Regions from separate parts of the Homo sapiens genome. Here region 2 is linked to region 1. The links are contacts of gene promoters, found by promoter capture Hi-C in blood cells and fetal thymus (Javierre and others, 2016). All regions are on one chromosome and are shown on one strand. The core of a region is centred on a gene start or on the middle of the fragment in contact, and the rest is flanking DNA. Distances in the headings are between cores, read along the strand shown. Region 1 holds the start of PCBP1-AS1 (PCBP1 antisense RNA 1). Region 2 overlaps AAK1 (AP2 associated kinase 1).

Region 1 (2,700 bases), core at 149-2,648:
GTCTTCCTCTGTTTAAAAGAGAGAGAGAGAGAGAGAGATAAGAACACCTACCTCAGAGGACCATGGTAAAAATTAAAGATAGAATACGGTGAACTGCCTTGCATCGGATGTGCTGGCACTGGCCAATGCACAATAAACGCCTGTCCCTTCTAGACTAAAAATGAACACTTAATTGTGGTAAACTATTAATAAGATTCACCGGCCAACTGTCCTATGAAAAAGTCAGAGGCACTGTAGTCTCTTCGTAGCTCTCGTTCTCTCCAGCACAACAGCCCATGCTAGGAAGTCTAGAAAAGCAGTAACTTATCTCATTCCTTAAATTAAACAGAGGTTTCTAAATGCTTTGGTACTGTGGGGACCCAAATTATCCCTTGATACTGCCCCCCTATTATCCACTATTAAGCTTTAAAAAGGCGAGAGATTAAATATTGTGCCCACATTTTACAGTCATTCGCGTTCCCGTTTCAAATTAAAGGGAGGAAAACGCGTTAAAATTAGGCCTCCGACCTTCAGACCAGCCTGTGGGCTTTTTTAAGTCATAAAACTCGCGGAGGTGGAAGGCCCCGGGGAGGAAGAGGGGTGCATTCTAGAGCTTTCGGGCCGACCCCAATTTCTCGTTGGCGACGAATGCTAACCACGTGTCGCCATTTTGTGTTCAGGAAACATGGCGGCCGCCCCAAGGGTAAGGAACAGGGGAGGCGGAGTAGCGCCACGTTAGCCGCTTTCCCTGAGAGATTGTGAAGCACGTTGCGCACGGGGCCCTTTCTGGTCTGGCTTAGCCCAAGGAGGAAGGGGAAAAGGCAGAAATCACAACTCATAGGCCAGCGTCTTGAGCGACACTTCCTCAGCGGGAAGAACCGGCAAAAAAGGCCTTCCAAGATGGCGGGCCCTGACGGGGCCGCCCCCCTTGAGCCTGGCGCAGTGGCTGCGCCCATGGGCCCGAAAAGCAGCCGCGGGAGCCCAGGCCGCGCGGGGAAAGCCGCAGAAACGTCCTGAAGCCCTGGCCGGCAGCCCCTGAACAAACGAGGCCTCCACAGGCGTACACTATTGTTTCTAATGTCGGAAAAGGGTGCCGCGGTGGAAACGACACAAGGGCAGGAGGTGGGGTTTCTGTGGCTTTAACCGAAAGAAACTTGCGAAACGCAAACAAAGCATTATGTAAATGGACGCCATTCTTTTTAGGACCACGTTTCTAGCACGCCCCACAAACAGCAGAGCCGCGATTCGGCAGGCGGCCGTGAGTGGGTTTCGGTCTTTCTGCCCACCGGCCGCCGCCGGGGAGCAGGAGCTGGGGTGGGGGATCCATGCAGGGCGCCCGGACGCCGGGGACGAAAGGGCCCCACGTGCCCGCCCGCGCGCACCCGCTCCGCAGGCCTCGCCTCGCCGCCCCTCCCCCCCGGAAGAGGGCTGCTGCCCCTCCCATCCCCCCACACCCTCGCGCACGCGCTCTGGTCACCTCACGCGCATGTTTTAAACCCGCGGCGTCCCGGCTTGTGCCTGCAGTTTCCGCCGGGGCTGCCCATGTCGTTCCGCGCACGAGCCCCTCATGTAGGGCAGGAAAATAATGTCTATCCCGCATACACAGCACTAGTATTTTCAGTCACCCGCCAGTGCCGTTAGAGTTAATAAAATACGTCATCATTTTAAAACTTTGCCGGACTCACAGCTTCCGCCCATCGTGCGCTTCATTTTCACTACTGCAGTGTCAGAAGGTTTTTTTTTTAAGGACCATGTAAGGGTTGGCGCAATCTTGTGACCTAAAAAAGACGGGTCCTCATTTTTTTTCAAGGGGTCCTGCGCAGCAAGCACTTCCGGGGTCAGAGGGTACGCGGGGTTGAAAGCGGGCTTCCCGCCCCGCCCAGACCGCCGAGGCTGCCGCCGGAGTCGCCACCGCCGCGCCCTCGCCCACCCGCCCGCCCGCCGCTCCCGGCCCCGCTCGCCCCCTCCGCCGCCGCCGCCCGCCCCTGCGACTACGCTGCGGCCTCCCGCCCGCTCCCGCTCGCTCCCGCGGCCCTCGCTCGCCTCGCGCCGGCAGTTTTGGGCCTACACCTCCCCTCCCCCCGCCAGCCGCCAAAGACTTGACCACGTAACGAGCCCAACTCCCCCGAACGCCGCCCGCCGCTCGCCATGGATGCCGGTGTGACTGAAAGTGGACTAAATGTGACTCTCACCATTCGGCTTCTTATGCACGGAAAGGAAGTAGGAAGCATCATTGGGAAGAAAGGGGAGTCGGTTAAGAGGATCCGCGAGGAGAGTGGCGCGCGGATCAACATCTCGGAGGGGAATTGTCCGGAGAGAATCATCACTCTGACCGGCCCCACCAATGCCATCTTTAAGGCTTTCGCTATGATCATCGACAAGCTGGAGGAAGATATCAACAGCTCCATGACCAACAGTACCGCGGCCAGCAGGCCCCCGGTCACCCTGAGGCTGGTGGTGCCGGCCACCCAGTGCGGCTCCCTGATTGGGAAAGGCGGGTGTAAGATCAAAGAGATCCGCGAGAGTACGGGGGCGCAGGTCCAGGTGGCGGGGGATATGCTGCCCAACTCCACCGAGCGGGCCATCACCATCGCTGGCGTGCCGCAGTCTGTCACCGAGTGTGTCAAGCAGATTTGCCTGGTCATGCTGGAGACGCTCTCCCAGTCTCCGCAAGGGAGAGTCATGACCATTCCGTACCAGCCCATGCCGGCCAGCTCCCCA
Region 2 (2,760 bases), core at 158-2,657, 450 kb before region 1:
GAAGGCTGATGCTACCAGGGGAGGTATGGCAGTGCGACATCTTTTTGTCTTACCCAGCACCTGCTCCTTGGGGTTCTTGCAATTCCTTATGAAAAAGCACAGACCAATACCCACGCTAGAGAAAAAGAGATCATCAGCGGAATGTGGTGGTAATCTGGTCTGTGTTTTGAAGCCTCTCACACCACTCCTCCCTAAACTGCCTAGCCACCGCTCTGGGCACACAGGGTACAACTCCTGTGGTCCTTAAACAACTCTGGCTAGAACTGTAGATAAGTCAGCACTCGGGGACTCACAGAGAAGAGAGTCCAGGGAAGGAGCATGGCTACCCAAAACGTCTGTTAAGCCTTTAAGGAGCTGGTGAGGACTCTGCAAAGAACATCTGGCTCTGTCCCCTAACAATGGGGGAAAGGAATTGCTTCAGATTGCTGCAGCTCAACTAGCTTTCACATTGCTCCCACTCCCCTTTAACACACACACACACACACACACACACACACACACACACACTCTCTCTCTCTCTCTCTCTCTCTCTCCCCCCCCACATATATACATATGATGTATAACGTTGCTGGTAAGTAATGGCTACCATTTATTGAACACCTGAAAATGTTAATTATATATATTGCCTCATTTAATCTTCATGACCAGCCCATTAAGCAGTGGTTCTCAAACTTGACCTTGCGTCAGAATCTCTCCAGGAACTTATTAAGCCCCACACCCACAGCCTACAGAGTGAGGCCTGAGAATCTCCATTTCCAACAAGCTCGCAGGTGATAAGTATGCCCCACTTTGAGAACCACTGCCACAGGGAAACAGAGATTCAAGAGTGGTTTGGAATGTCTTGCCTACAGTTCCACAGCTAGTAAAGAACAGATCCAGAATTTGAACCTAGATCTGTCTGACTCTACAGACAGTGCTGGTAACCATGCTACTGTATGTGTGAATGTATGCCTCATCTTCCCAAATTCATTGGCAGATCCTTAAAGGCAGATGTCAATCACACTATAGACCTCCCTCATCCATCTCAGAACTTCATAGGGTCTTTGGACTTGGTAGGTGCTACATAAATACTTTGTATACTGGCTCCTACATATCTACATACTTCTAAGAGCCACAAATTCAAACTCAACTTAAGCCAAAGAACACAAAAAGGGCGCATAGCCAGACCCAGTTTTACGTGACATTCTCTCTCGCTACTCTGTCTTTGCCCATGGTGCCACCACACTAACTCCTACTCACTCTTCAGTCACTTCCTTCAGAAATCCTGGGCTCCCTAAAACTGGGGGCCACTGCACCCTAAGTTTATCTCTATGATGGCATTTACCAATCCACTATAACTGGCTATTTTCCATCTCTTAAAGCAGTTGGTAAAAGCTAGCATCTAGTTTAACAGTATACCCCCAGAGCCTAGCACAGCACCTGGCACTTCACAGGCAACTCCATAAACTGTTGAATGAATAAATGCAGAGCTACAAGTCCTAAATTCTGTGTAAAAATATCACAATACGTGATGCGCAGTTCTCAAAGATGAATCCCAGAGAAGAGGAAGGCAGCCTAGGTAACAAAGACCAATTTTGCCTTTTCTTTTCCCTATCACTTCTCTCACACTTGGAGAACATGCACCGCTTAGGGCAGCATCATCCGTGATGAGACAACATCCTAGCTGAACAAAACGCTCGTGGGCTATAAGGTCAGCAGAGGCCATTCAGAGGGGAGGAAAGTGTTCTGTGGCCCTTCGTTTCTCCTGATTTCTCTCTGACACACTCTCCTTTTCACTGTTTCTCCACCCCACTGCAGTTAAGGGCTTTGGCACAGGGATGAAAGAGACAGATCAGACTCAAGGGTGCGGATCTGGCAGCGGGCACAGAAGCATCTCCTAGCCTGCACCAAAGTCCACGGGAAAGATCCAAGGGGACAGTGACTCTGGCCCCAGATAAAGCGCAGCTAGAACAGTACTGAGATTGGAAGAGCAATAATTTCACATGGACATTAACTGTCAGAGATCTTTTTTAAAAATCATGTTTTTAAAGTACAGACTTCAACTCTATTCCCAGAAAACTGGGCCCTGCTGAATCCAGTGCTTACACAAGCTGAGAGCCAAACACAGCTTCTTCCTCTTCCAAACCCACCCACCAGCCCGCAACATCCACCATGGTAAGCATTTCCCAGGCCCAGGTCAGGACCCTTGCTTCAACTTTAGCTTGCAAAAGGCCCCTTTTTAAAGAGGCCTCTTAGCTTTCTCTCTTCCCTTGCTAATAAAACTGTTCCCTACCATCACCATGTTGCAGTAAGAGAGACCTCTCCCTTCTTCCAACCCCTCTCGGTCTATAACACAACCTACAGCAGGTTGGCCCCATCCAATCAGTCTGAATTGCTTCATGCCAAGGAAATTGCTGCTTTTATTAAAAATAAAAGCACACTAGGCAGGCGAAGGGCTGTGAAAAGTATGAGTCTGGCATAATTATGAAGGTCGAGGTTAAGGTTACCAAAAGAGACATGCAAAGATTTCCCGAAAGCCTGGGGGAATCAAGATGTATATCTACGTGAGTATAGACACACAGATGAAACACAGAGGGAATTTATGCAGCAGATCTAAATAACATCCTCTCTGATAGCGAAAAAACAAAATCAGAGCCACTCTCAAGTAATTTTTCTTTTGATTAAAAAAACAAAAAACAAAACCTAAAGCGAGAAGGAAGAGGGGCCTACTAGACTGAGTTCAAAATAACCACATTTGTTTTATGTAATTTCTGTTATCTT

The links. The method cuts DNA at HindIII sites, captures the fragments that hold promoters and counts their contacts. A CHiCAGO score of 5 or more calls a contact.
Region 2: a contact is called between a fragment that was not itself captured here and the fragment with the promoter of PCBP1-AS1 in region 1, in 1 of 17 cell types (naive CD8 T cells). The highest score is 5.1, in naive CD8 T cells.

Annotation. Positions count from the first base shown.
Region 1 is chr2:70,085,617-70,088,316 of GRCh38, forward strand. PCBP1-AS1 (PCBP1 antisense RNA 1) reads right to left here and starts at 1,399. Exons shown (of 11, transcript NR_033872.1): 1 at 1,362-1,399; 2 at 1-8. PCBP1 (poly(rC) binding protein 1) reads left to right here and starts at 1,861. Exons shown (of 1, transcript NM_006196.4): 1 at 1,861-2,700. The coding sequence starts at 2,128. It also overlaps a transcript of ASPRV1 not described here. RefSeq lists enhancers at 458-597, 738-827, 868-1,077, 2,283-2,700 and silencers at 1,288-1,437, 1,888-1,947. The HindIII fragment of the contact is 2,991 bases long and covers 402-2,700 here.
Region 2 is chr2:69,639,548-69,642,307 of GRCh38, forward strand. The region is part of intron 2 of AAK1 (AP2 associated kinase 1); the gene reads right to left. Among named protein-coding and RNA genes, the nearest start is that of AAK1, 2.8 kb to the right of the region's middle. The HindIII fragment of the contact is 3,236 bases long and covers 1-2,760 here.